3 separate regions of the Homo sapiens genome follow, and all the other regions are linked to region 3. The links are contacts of gene promoters, found by promoter capture Hi-C in blood cells and fetal thymus (Javierre and others, 2016). All regions are on one chromosome and are shown on one strand. The core of a region is centred on a gene start or on the middle of the fragment in contact, and the rest is flanking DNA. Distances in the headings are between cores, read along the strand shown. Region 1 has its middle 2.4 kb from the start of HNRNPR. Region 2 overlaps SRRM1 (serine and arginine repetitive matrix 1). Region 3 holds the start of PNRC2 (proline rich nuclear receptor coactivator 2).

Evidence for each region. The method cuts DNA at HindIII sites, captures the fragments that hold promoters and counts their contacts. A CHiCAGO score of 5 or more calls a contact.
Region 1: a fragment that was not itself captured here is called in contact with the fragment with the promoter of PNRC2 in region 3 in 1 of 17 cell types (neutrophils); the score reaches 5.4 in neutrophils.
Region 2: a fragment that was not itself captured here is called in contact with the fragment with the promoter of PNRC2 in region 3 in 1 of 17 cell types (fetal thymus); the score reaches 5.9 in fetal thymus.

Annotation. Positions count from the first base shown.
Region 1 is chr1:23,344,658-23,348,800 of GRCh38, reverse strand. No RefSeq gene overlaps it. Among named protein-coding and RNA genes, the nearest start is that of HNRNPR, 2.4 kb to the right of the region's middle. RefSeq lists a silencer at 3,975-4,094 and an enhancer at 4,000-4,143. The HindIII fragment of the contact is 155 bases long and covers 2,358-2,512 here.
Region 2 is chr1:24,644,954-24,649,396 of GRCh38, reverse strand. SRRM1 (serine and arginine repetitive matrix 1) reads right to left here. Exons shown (of 17, transcript NM_005839.4): 2 at 3,324-3,413; 3 at 2,608-2,730; 4 at 368-538. Among named protein-coding and RNA genes, the nearest start is that of SRRM1, 3.9 kb to the right of the region's middle. The HindIII fragment of the contact is 4,299 bases long and covers 1-3,973 here.
Region 3 is chr1:23,958,101-23,962,315 of GRCh38, reverse strand. It overlaps PNRC2 (proline rich nuclear receptor coactivator 2), which reads right to left and starts at 2,488. Exons shown (of 3, transcript NM_017761.4): 1 at 2,318-2,488; 2 at 1,182-1,387; 3 at 1-876. The coding sequence starts at 858. The coding sequence ends at 439. It overlaps LOC124903877 (a long non-coding RNA gene), which reads left to right and starts at 4,202. Exons shown (of 4, transcript XR_007065541.1): 1 at 4,202-4,214. RefSeq lists enhancers at 2,222-2,491, 3,392-3,451, 3,630-4,215 and silencers at 2,692-2,801, 3,212-3,311. The HindIII fragment of the contact is 4,127 bases long and covers 945-4,215 here.

The DNA.
Region 1 (4,143 bases), core at 1,186-3,685, 610 kb after region 3:
TCTAGATCTCTTGACCACATGATCCACCTGCCTCGGCCTCCCAAAGTGCTGGAATTACAGGCATGAGCCACTGTGCCTGGCTTTCTCTACTCTTAACTCCATGATTTTTCTTTCTTTCTTTTTTTTTTTTGAGTTGGAGTTTCACTCTTGTTGCCCAGGCTGGAGTGCAATGGCGCGATCTCAGCTCACCACAACCTCTGACTCCCGGGTTCAAGTGATTCTCCTGCCTCAGCCTCCTGAGTAGCTGGGATTACAGGCATGCGCCACCATGCCCAGCTAATTTTTGTATTTGTAGTAGAGACCGGGTTTCTCCATGTTGGTCAGGCTGGTCTTGAACTTCCGACCTCAGGTGATCTGCCTGCCTTGGCCTCCCAAAGTGTTGGGACCACAGGCATGAGCCACCATGCTGGCCAACTCCATGATTTTTATATAGAGGCATGCAATACATATTTGTGGAATATTGAATTCATGAATATCTGTATCTATACAATAATTTTCTTTCCAAGTAAAAAAATCAAGACATATGGTCTGAAATGTGGAGTATACCTTTGATGACTACATAGCAGAACATTTGAAATATTATCCCAGAAAATACTGGGTGATAGAATCGTTTTAAATTACATATCTAGGCCAGGTGCGGTGGCTCACACCTGTAATCCCAACACTTTGGGAGGCCGAGGTGGGCGGATCATTTGAGGTCAGGAGTTTGAGACCAGCCTGGACAACATGGTGAAACCCTGCCTCTACTAAAAATACAAAAATTAGCCAGATGTCATGCATGGCAGGCATCTGTAATCCCAGCTACTTGGGAGGCTGAGGCAGGAGAATCGCTTGAATCCGGGAGGTGGAAGTTGCATTGAGCTGAGATTGCACCACTGCACTCCAGTATGGGCCACAGAGTGAGACTGTCTCAAAAAAAAAAAAATTACATATCTGACCCACGGGTTCTCATCAATGGACTTGAAGGAGTCTCTGAATGCAAGTAAGGAGTACTTAAACTTGGATGGGGAAAAAAATTACATCTTTGTTTTCTCTAACATCTAACTGAAATTTAGCATTTTTCCCCATTGTGAATGTAGACAACATATCACAGTAGAATTAGTAACAGCTTTCCCTCTGTCACCAATAGAAATCATTTTCATATCACTTTACTACTCATGGATTTCTTGAAATATCACTCTACAATTTCTGTAGTTATTAGATCTGCTCTAAGATCTTAATAGTTATTGTGTTAATAAAGAAAAAGTTCCTGCCTGGGTAACATGGTGAAACCCCGTCTCTGAAAAAAAGAAAAAAAAAAAAAACACAAAAAAACAAAAACAACAATTAGCCCAGAGCGGTGGCCAGCGCTTGTAGTTCCTACAAGCCACTGGGGAAGCTGAGGTCAGAGGATCGCTTGAGCCCTGGAGGCAGAGGTTGCCGTGAGCCCAGATTGCACCATTGCACTCCAGCCTGGGTGATAAAGTGAGCACATGTTTAAAAAAAAAAAAAAAAATTAAAAAGTAAAAGCTGGGCTGGGTGCGGTGGCTCACGCCTGTAATCCCAGCACTTTGGGAGGCTGAGGCGGACGAATCACGAGGTCAGGAGATCGAGACCATCCTGGCTAACACGGTTAAACCCCGTCTCTACTAAAAATACAAAAAATTAGCTGGGCGTGGTGGCTGGCGCCTGTAGTCCCAGCTACTCGGGAGGCTGAGGCAGAAGAATGGCGTGAACCCGGGAGGCGGAGCTTGCAGTGAGCCGAGATTGCGCCACTGCACTCCAGCCTGGGCGACACAGCGAGACTCTGTCTCAAAAAAAAATAAAAAAATAAGCTGGGCGCGGTGGCTCATGCCTGTAATCCCAGCACTTTGGGAGGCCGAGGCGGGCGGATCATGAGGTCAGGAGATCAAGACCATCCTGGCTAACACGGTGAAAACCCCGTCTCAACTAAAAAAAAAAAAAAAAAAAAATTAGCTGGGCATGATGGCAGGCTATATAGTCCCAGCTACTCGAGAGGCTGAGGCGGGAGAATGGCATGAACCCGGGAGGCGGAGCTTGCAGTGAGCCGAGTTCGCGCCACTGCACTCCAGCCTGGGCGACAGAGCGAGACTCCATCTCAAAAAAAAAAAAATAAAAATAAAATAAATAAAAAATAAAAAAGTAAAACCTTACTATATCACGAATGTGTTTTAAAATATATTTCCTAATTGTATTTCAATATAAATGGTTTCTTTCGTATTGCTCTGTATTTTGTTTCATGCATTTAAAAACTGAGAAGAGATTCATAGCTTTTACCAGACTTCCAAATGGCACAAAATAGGTTAAGAATTATGGCGCTAGAGGCAGATTTATGTGAAGCTAGTAAAATTTAAGCTTCAGGCTGGGCGCCTGTAATCTCAGCACTTTGGGAGGCCGAAGCAGAAGGATCATTTGAGGCCAGGAATTCAAGACCGGCCAAGACCGGCCTGGGCAACATAGCGAGATTCCCTCCGCACCTCCCGTGTCTCTATTAAAAAAAAAAAGTTAAGCTTCGGGGTCCTCCCTCACTTTTACAATGCCCTTCCAAGACTCTGTTCCTAAATTTGTATTCGTCATTTAATATGATTTTTCTTAAAGACTCCCAACATTTCTTTCTTTCCTTCTTCCTTTCTTTTCCTTTTCTTTCCTTTTCTTCTCTCTCTCTGTCTTTCTCTCTTTCTTTCTAGAAGGAGTTTCACTCTTGTCGCCCAGGTTGGAGTGCAATGGCGCAATCCCGGCTACTGCAACCTCCGCCTCCCGGGTTCAAGCGATACTCCTGCCTCAGCCTCTCAAGTAGCTGGAATTACATGCACGCGCCACCACGCTCGGCTAATTTGTGTATTTTTAGTAGAGACGGGGTTTCACTATGTTGGCCAGGCTGGTCTCGAACTCCTGTGCTCAAGTGATCGTCCACTTCGGCCTCCCTAAGTGCTGGAATTACAGGCGTGAGCCACCGCGCCCGGCCTAAGACTCCCAGCATTTCTGTAAATCTCACACCCCATAACACAAAACTTGGATCTACCCAGAGATTTAACTTGGTACTGGGCACATAGTAGTCGTTTTCAATATTTCTTTTTCTTTTTTTTTTTTTTTAAGACGGAGTTTCGCTGTTGTTCCCTAGGGTGGAGTGCAGTGGTGCGATATTGGCTCACTGCAACCTCCGCCTCCCGGGTTCAAGCGATTTTTCTGCCTCAGCCTCCGGAGTAGGTGGGTTTACAGGCACGTGCCACCACACCGGGCTAATTTTTGTATTTTTAGTAGAGGCAGGGTTTCACCATGTTGATCAGGCTGGTCTCGAACTTCTGACCGATACACCCGCCTCGGCCTCCCAAAGTGCTGGGATTACAGGCATGAGCTACCACGCCCCGCCCGTTTTCAATAATTAAATATAGGTTTGTAGGTTCTGAGAAATTTAATCATCCTTGAGTGCATCTGGAAATCTGCAGACCACTGCTTGACTTCCTCCACTTCCTAAGGGTGGGGCATTGGAGTTTGGGGTTGGGAAAAAAGCGCTTGCACCACAGAAGTGAGTTCGGAAGGTTTCTATGAGACGAGACAGGTTTGGACTAAGGACAGGGAACAAATCAGTAGGAATGGCAGGTGAGAAATAGGTTTAGGACTAACACGAATTATAGTGTCCTTTGGGAATTACCCCTTTCCCCTGCATGGCTCTTTTGGCTTCAGAGATGTATATAGCTGCTTTATTTTATGAATATCAAGTAGCTCCAAACCCTGTGGGGAAAAGCTCCCTGCTCTATCACTTGTGTTACACATTGCTTTTGAGTCATTTTAACGATTTCCCTCACAGTCTGCCACCAACGATGTGTGGACGGCAGCCAGGGAGGGAAAGAGGCATTTCTCCGATCGTTCCAAGGAATGATTATCTAGACAAAATCCTCAGCAAAATGACGAGCCAAATCATCCTTAAATCGTGTGCTCACTAGAGGCGAAAAGATGACCGAAAGAGGCCCGAACGCGTGGCTATGGGCGTGTCTGGGGGGAACGCCGGCCGCGGGGGTGCGAGGGAGGACTCGGGGGCTAAGGGCGGCCGGTGGCGGGACGCAAGCGCCATGGCGGAGCTGGGCCAGTGCTGACCATAGGGGGCGGGGCTCCGGAGGCGGCCACGCGGCGCGAGGCCTAGAT
Region 2 (4,443 bases), core at 575-3,074, 690 kb before region 3:
CAGTGAGCAGAGACCACACCACTGCACTCTAGCCTGGGTGACAGACTGAAACTGTGTCTCAAAAAAACAACAAACCAAAAATCCTTATGCTTACCTTTCAGTGTTAAATTCAAATTTCTTTTAAGCTACATGCACTCACATATTAAGAATTTGTAAAAATCTAGCAAATCACTAGACTGGGAAAATGACATTCTAAACTCAATGTTTGGTTGGAGGGAGGAGCAGTGAACCAAAACTGAATGTTTAAATACAGTACAGCAAAGCAAAACTACATGAAGATCCTAGCTGAGTCATATACTACCTAAGGTGTCTCGGCAGCCTGGCCAATACTCTCAAATCGACATTACAGAAAAGAAAAGGTTATTACCTGTCTTTGTTTTATTTCTTCTTTCTTCAGTTCTAGGAAAGCAGAAGGGATTCCCGCGATGTTTTCTTGTGCACTTAGCAGCAGGGGCCACAGTTCTCCCATAAATTCTCGAGCATTTTTTCCATTCAAAAATCCAGTCAGGTTGATTTGCATCATTTTGGAGTCTGGATTCTGCAAAAAGACACGACAGGAAGAAAAACAGGTTACTTCAAAACCAACCAACCAACAAATCAACCAACCTAAAACTCATTTAAATTAGTATTTTTTAAGTCTACCATAGGGGCTTAGACATATATATAGTCCTTACTATTTTACAAATAGTCTTCCCTAGTAGCTTCTCAGCAATATAATCTCTAACAGATTACCAAATTCTCTCTCACTCTACCAAAAGCATCAGAGCAGCCTGTTAATCCTTTGTGGATTTCGTAAGTATTTTTAGACTCTGTGGCTGTTAGTGGGCCTTACATTTATTAACTTTAAAAACCATCATGAAACATCCACAAATTCTAGTATTTACTAACAAGAAAAGTATTTGCTTGCCTGGAAATTTTCCCCCAATGAGAAACGGAAAAAGTACATAAACTGCTCCCTAACACTACAGATAGCTTTGCATAAAATATCTATTGTCCAGTTATGAAAACTAACAAGTTATGCATGCAGTCTGTAACTTCTGAGGGCTAAGCTAAAGGCCTGAGTTTTATATAAGGAAAATCTATTATAACAATGCCTCAAATTCTCAACTGTCCACAAAGTGCTAAGAGGTCAAGATTTCTCAAAAATAATTGGGTTTTTAAATGCTAAATCCGTTGGTCAAGCAACAAGGTCTGTATAACAAGCACAGCTCAATAGCACAAAGCAAGTACAGATTCCAGGTGTCTTCAGTTTCTTCTTGGAACCTTGGGGGTTTGGAATCGCCAAGTCCCCTGTAGAGAAAGATGTTCCCTTGGCTTGCTTCCGACTCCCTACTGCAACTCAACCACCTTGAGTTTAATGTTATATCATTTATCTAAATTGCAAAAGACGAACAAGCAATAATGAGTACACAACCACAAAAAAAGAATTGTCTTAAAAAGTTCTAAACTTTAATCTCATGCTCACTACAAGGGGAATACTACCAGATACTTAGGTTTTTAAAATGCACTAAAATACACATCAGTAAAGCATTTCTCCAATAAAATCTATCTTCAATCATCATTTAAAAAACTTTCTCCCCTGTTCCTGGTTTTCTAAGATGCATATACTTTATAGAAAGTGCATTCTTAAAATTAGTCTTTAAAAATATTCAAAACAAAATACAAACACCAAATTATTTTAAAACTAGAAATACCTTATCAGTTGAAATGCCAACTGTTCTGTCAAAACATAGGGTGAACTCTTTGGGGGAAATGATTAATGTAAAAGTAAATTCACATTGGTATATATGCAAAAAGGTCATATGGTACATATCTTAACTGTCCTTTGGGTTGCTGTGGCAAAACAGAAACTGTCTTACAATAAGAATGTTCTTAAACATCAGTTATATCATCATATTATCTCATGTATAAAGGAACAATTATATGCTGCCAATTTGTCTGAAGTTTAAGTATAAACAAAAATCCTGTCTCTAAAATGTAACTGATGACTAGCTGACATGCAGCTACAAAGACCTTAGTTCCTTTAAAAACAATATCCAATCAAATCAGAATTGCCCCTCATGCTTCACATAAATGTCCATCTCATAATAGTATTTTAAAAGAGCAGTGTACAGCTTTACCCAATTGCTCTTTCCTGTTTGTGTTTTTTGTTGTTGTTGTTGATGTTTGGCCACTTTACACAACTCACCTCCAAACACACACTGCATCATCAAGGGAGTTGGGTCAGAGCGACATTGGGACACTCACTCTGCTGTGACCTAATAAGGTGATGGTGCTATACTTCAGACGCAAGGAATAACTTCCATTTTGGTTCAGGCCTTTTAAATCATAAATCACATTATCATTAGAAAATTGCTGTCAAAGTAACTTAACATGTAACAGCAAAATTACAAACAATAAGTTTGATTTTTCACCTGTGTAGCTTTCAAAACTATGCACCTTCACTAAACTTCCAGCCTTAATAGTTGTTTACAAAGTGAATTCTTTTCACAACAAACATTGTAAAATAACCCTTCTATATTTGCACTCCATAGAAAAAATTCAGTTTCCAAAGATTCACAAATTATATCACATATTCAGAAACAAGAGCCATTTGTATATTAGTACCTTCACTTCCAGCTGGTTGAATATAAACTCAATCACAACATCATCTTCAAACCCAAGGATTTCCGTTACTCTTTTTGTTATCCAAGGCTTTATAACCTCCAAATTTACTTTGCTCATGTCCACCTGATGAAACATAGAAACAATTAAGTACAACTTCACAATCCTAAAAAAAAATGCTCAAGTTAGAGTTCTGTCTACCAAAGTTCCTTTTAGCTTAGTTTTTTTGTTTGGCATAGTAGAATCTGCTAATTTTTTTTTTTTTTTTTTGAGACAGAGTCTTGCACTCTTGCCCAGGCTGGAGTGCAGTGGTGCTCAGCTCACTGCAAGCTCCGCCTCCCAGGTTCGTGCCATTCTCCTGCCTCAGCCTCCCAATTAGCTGGGATTACAGGCACCCGCCACCACGCCCGGCTAATTTTTTGTATTTTTAGTAGAGACAGGGTTTCACCGTGTTAGCCAGGATGGTCTCAATCTCCTGACATTGTGATTTGCCCGCCTCGGCCTCCCAAAGTGCTGGGATTACAGGCGTGAGCCACCTCGCCCAGCCACAATCTGCTAATTCTTATATGGCTGTGCCACGTGTGGTGGCTAAAAGGTGGTTAATGTTCAATTATGTTTTTCTTAGCATTCAAGTTACAATGCATCTCCAAAACAACCCCAGAACTTGAGTCAAGTAAGTGTGCTATAAAGATGCACAACAGTCTCATCCAGAAGAATACCTTTTTTTCTAGGCATTCTGCAAATTTCAGCTGCTTCAGTAGTTTCTTCTGTTTGTTGCTGAACCGATTATCCTGTTCTGCACTTGTTCCCTGCAGGAAGAGAACCACATCTTAACTAAGGGTTCAAAGTTAAATCCTTACTTTTTATCACCTACGACCTTTATAGCCAAAATAGGGTAACCAAGTAAACACAATACCAAACTAGTTTTCATAGATGAGAAATGCATACTCCTTCCCCAATGTAGCTGATACTTGGAAAACTTGACTGGATTTTTAAATTATCAAGTATATGTTCATCATAAGTCAAACCTAAAACAACAGTATACAGCATAAAGCCAACACCTCCTCATATCCAATGTTAGATTTGATTTGTATCCTTTCACACCTTTTCCTATGCTAATAGATACGTAGGGCTTTTCTGTTTAAATGAGAACACATTGAAGTATTTGAAATTTCATTCTTTTTTGAAAGCCAGTTGCATGCTTGCAAAACTACTGTGGCAATGCATACAAACAGGGTGAAAGGAAAAAAGAACATCCCAGGACTGTGCTGTTAGTCTTCTACAACTTTTAGGAACTTGGAATGAGTGAAGAAGACAGGGTTACCTAAATAAACTCAATTTCAGCAAAGAACCTGGAAAAATGAAAGCTTACAAATACTACCTTAGATCATCGAGTGATCACTAATTATTCTTTTCATTTTGTCATTCCTACTGGCCCAATTAAACACGGAAATAACTGGCTGTGCCATCTGAAATGTACTGATTGGTTCACTGAGTTGGCCACAGTCCCCTGGAAAGCGATCAAAAAAAATTTTGTTTGAGAAGGTAAAAACTGTGCCACTACTTAGCCGTAAGATCGTAAACCAAGTTACCCAGCCTCTCTGAGGATAGTTCCTTCCCTGCTAAAATAGAGGTATAGAAACCTACTCTGCAGGGTTGCTGTGTACATACCAGAAATAACATATGTAAAGTATCTGGCATGTGGAAGAAGTTCATTGAATGGAAGATATAACTTCTATACTACCTGAAATAGTTCATCTGGTTGGCAGGGTACTAGATAATGACCCTAAAATATTTTAACTTGGATCTTAAATCCAGTTAACTCTTGTATTTAAGCAA
Region 3 (4,215 bases), core at 1,239-3,738:
TTCAGCAGTGCATCAGGTTAGCATATTACTGGTTTGGGTGTTTCTAATATACTAAACCTTCAGATGTTTACCTAATTCTGAATCCTTGTGTTAGCTAGAAGCTTATAATCCGATTCACCAACTTTCAACAATCTACTGGTCCATGAATGATAAATTACTGTCTTCCCCTAACAATAGAAAAAGCTGATTCCTTTACCACTCCCCAAATCTAAACTTGGTTTCCACTTAAAAGTTACTCAGTTGAGAACACTTAATATCAAGTACAATCATTAGTTTAAGTTGCACTGATACTACCATTATATCACAGTGCACACAACACGAGATGGTCTATTTTTTTTACATTAATTAGTTCTACACAAATAGATTCCCTAGCGAATTTGTTTCAGACCAATTGACAACTATCCGTGAACATAACTAAATTTAAACATTTGTCTTATTTTATACCTGTACTTTAAGTAAGGTTTTAAGTTGAAATGTCATTATTTCCTTATCTGAAGGATTAAAGGAAACAGGGACCCAGTGGCTTGGTGGTTTGGGAAGAACACTTGGTGATGGCGGCTCACTAAATTTGGCACCAGCATAGTTCTGATTAGCTTGAGATTTAAAAAGTAACCTGGGACCTGATAAGCTAGAATTCCAACTTTGATTATTTGGAAAATTTTTGTTCTTCCCCCCATTTTGCATGGCCTGCCAGGCAGCTGCTGATGAGTTATAACCATGTCCTCTTTCTTTTTTCTTATGAACAATCTTCATCTGGGAATTCTGTTCCTTGGTCTTCTGTCTGTTAAGCTGTTGTTGGTTCTTACTAACATTTCTAGATTGAGGGGCTGGAATGTTATACCTCTCTCCACCACCCATCTTCAGCTTCTTTGTCACCTACAAGTGAATGGAAACAAATATTGAGTAAAATTCCATTAAGAAAAGTTCAAAATCTTTAAGAAGCTTCTATGGCTCCAACTTATAACTCCAGATATTTTGGACAAGACTCAATAACAGGCTATTCAGCTGCTTTAAACTCAAAAAAGCAAGCCGTTCAGACTTCAATATATGCACAACCTTTATTGTTATACCTTCCCTAAGAAAAATGAGCTTACCCACAAATCTACATAATCTATTTTAAAATAAAAACAATTGGTTTAGGATGGTTCCATCATAAAATGTTTGCCCATTATGATGATTACCTTTCAGTCTGCTTTTCAGATTGCAGGATCTCCACTACCTGTCCTCTTCCTTGCTGCCAAGCCCAAGATAACAAGTGTTGCTTTCTGACAGATCCCTTCCTTTGTCTCAATACAGAAGTTTTCATGGGCCGATCTGCTGAGTTCAGCCTAGGAGCTGAGGCCAACATCTGAGTCTCCTCAGCACACAAGTTTGAGAGAAGTCCTAGCTAGAAAAGTAAAGATTACTTCATTATTTCAAAAACACGTTGAGAAAGTGATCATTTAGATTTACTACGAAAATCGTTGACTGTAAAGAAGGCTACTTCCTGAACTAAAAGGTAGAAAATTTCTCGTAAGATGGCTTTCTTTGACCTTATAACCACGACCATTTAAAAAAACTCTTCACCCTTGAGATCCAGTCACTCCTGGGGAATTTTTGTAAGTGTCTCCAAGTCCCGCAATAAGTTTTATCTTTATCTTTTTCCTGGGAAAGACCTTCAGATTCTCTCGCGTATAAAATCAAGGAAGTGTTAAATGTTGAGTCATATCAAAAAATTGGCTTCAGGCGGATTTTCTAAAGAGACCGTGTTTTTAAACTCCCACCAGAATTTTCCAATCTTTCCACACATGTCACATCCATTTTCAGTCTCTTGGAACATGTAGACATCACGCAGTGTTTCCTTTGGTTATGAACGCTCTCGCCTCCTCCCCGTCTTAAAATAAGTTCTCACAAGCCCTAACAGTCTAAGCCCATCTTAAATATATAAAAATGTCTCCCTAGAGGGAACAGCTTAACTTTCAAGGTTTGGTTTTAATTTGATGTTCCAAGAAAATAAGTTACCAAATAGTTAAGCCCCCTCCTTTCAAAGGGGTAAGAGAGCTTTCCAAACAGATAAACAACCCTAAATAAATTGCCATTTCCGGACTGTGAGTAATTCCCAACTCGAACCCGGAAAACGCCTCCTCCGACGCCACAAGGGCTTGGCTTCCCAGTGGCCCCATCTCTCCGGAGCCGCAGGGGTCGCGGCGCTGCGACCGCCCGTGACCGCCCGCGCCCGCCCGGGTTACCCGGATCTCGCCTCCGCTCGCCTCCTTCCTCCAACAATGGGGAGCGCGGCCACCAACATGGCCGCGCCCTTAGCGCAGCCGCTACTTACTGACTTCAAGCTCGGAACTAACGCGGCAGCGGCTCCCTCTCGACGTCGAAGCCTCCCTCCCTTTCCAGGGAGAGACGAGGCACGGACCGACAAAGCCCACGAACACCGATGAGCGAGCTGCCGGCCACCCCAGCTTCTACAACCCGACCTTCTCCTTCTGCCTCTACCGACAAAATGGAGTCGGCAGCGACTGCAGAAGCAGGGCCGGGAGGCTCCGCGGCCAATCAAAACACGACAGCGCGGGCCTGGCCAATGAGAAGCGGGCCGCCGCCTGTTGCTGGGGCTGGCCGGGGGCGAAGGCGCGGAGGTGGGGCTGCAGAGGGTTTGAAATCTGCCCGGGGAGGAGGAGCATGCCGGGAGTAACTGCTCGGTCCACCGGTGTCTTAGTCCTTTCTCCGGCGGCCTCTCCGCGCCCCTGGCCCGCCGAGGCCCCGGCCGCTAGCTCTCGGCTCTTCCTACCGCTCGGCTCTCGTGCGCGCGGGCTCGCCGCCCTTGGGACTGCCCTGGGGGAAAAGACTGACCGGCGGGGGACGTTTGGTTCTCGAATTAGGGCCACTGAGTCCTGTAGCCTGTATTGACAGATGGAAGATACTCCGGAAAGCCTCTTGCCAGGGCGCAGCCCCCTCCCGCCTCGGGCCTCGGCTTCTGGGTCGCCTCTCTCCCACACCCACAACTCCGCGTCCGAAGCCGGCGCCTCCCCGCGGTTCCCTCCAGTGCCCCCACCCTCCAGCCCCGCAATTACTCAAAAGTTGCCTCCCTGTGAAGGCGGTTCAGACACACGCGGGCAAGTCAGTCACTTCCTGCTTGGTGGCCCCATTGGTCCTTAAGTTCAATTAGAGCCCTTTACGCGCCGTGTTACCGTTTCCTGTGGCTGCAGCTCTCCCCACCCACACACCCTCGAGGGCCACAACCGGTTAGGTTTTGTTTCTCTGAGCACAGCGCCTTCGCGCGTTGTAAGTGCACAGTAAGTTTGCTGAAAGAATGAGGACTGCTCTCCTCCCCTTTCTGCCCCACTTGTAAGTGAAAAAGGGGAAGAAAGAGAATATTGTTCAGTTGATTATGCCAGCCAGATGCAGGTAAGGGGAAAATGGCAATTTCTTTGGAGTAAATGTATAAGTAACCCAATGTGAATCTTTTAAAAGAGCACTAATTTCAATGAGCGTGAATAATTCTGGGCCAAACGGTACAAAATCAGTCTCATTCACAGTTTGTTCGTGTATACACATATATACCCAAGTTTACGTTACAGAATTTATATTTACCAACTTTTTATAAATCTCATGTAATTCGTTATTTTTGAGACGGAGTCTCCTTCTGTCGCCCAGGCTGGAGTGCAGTGGCACAATCTCGGCTCACTGCAACCTCCGCCTCCTGGGCTCAAGCGATTCTCCTGCCTCAGCCTCCTGAGTAGTTGGGATTACAGGCGCCTGCCACCACACCCTCCTAATTTTTGTATTTTTAGTAGAGACAGGATTTCATCATGTTGGCCAGGCTGGTCTCAAACTCCTAACCTCACGTGATCCGCCCGTCTCAGCCACTCAAAGTGCTGGGATTACAGGCGTGAGCCACCACACCCGGCCTGTATTTCGTTTTTTAATCTTCAATTTTTTGCCACCGTTATCCCCCACTTCCCAATCCAACCCAAATTCCTATATTCTAGCCATTGGATCTTAAGAAAAGTTACTGCATCTTACGGGATGCAGTTTGTTAATCTAATTTGATAAAAGAGGTATTTTTGAGCATAGGGACTTTCTGATGCTAATCATATTCAAATAAGAAGTATGTGGTAAACCAACAGGTGTCTTAGTGAAAGTGTAATCTGTTTTCCAAACATTCAAGAAGTTTGCTTAGACGTCTAGCCAGATAATAGCCAGCTGTATTTAATGAATTTTTAATGG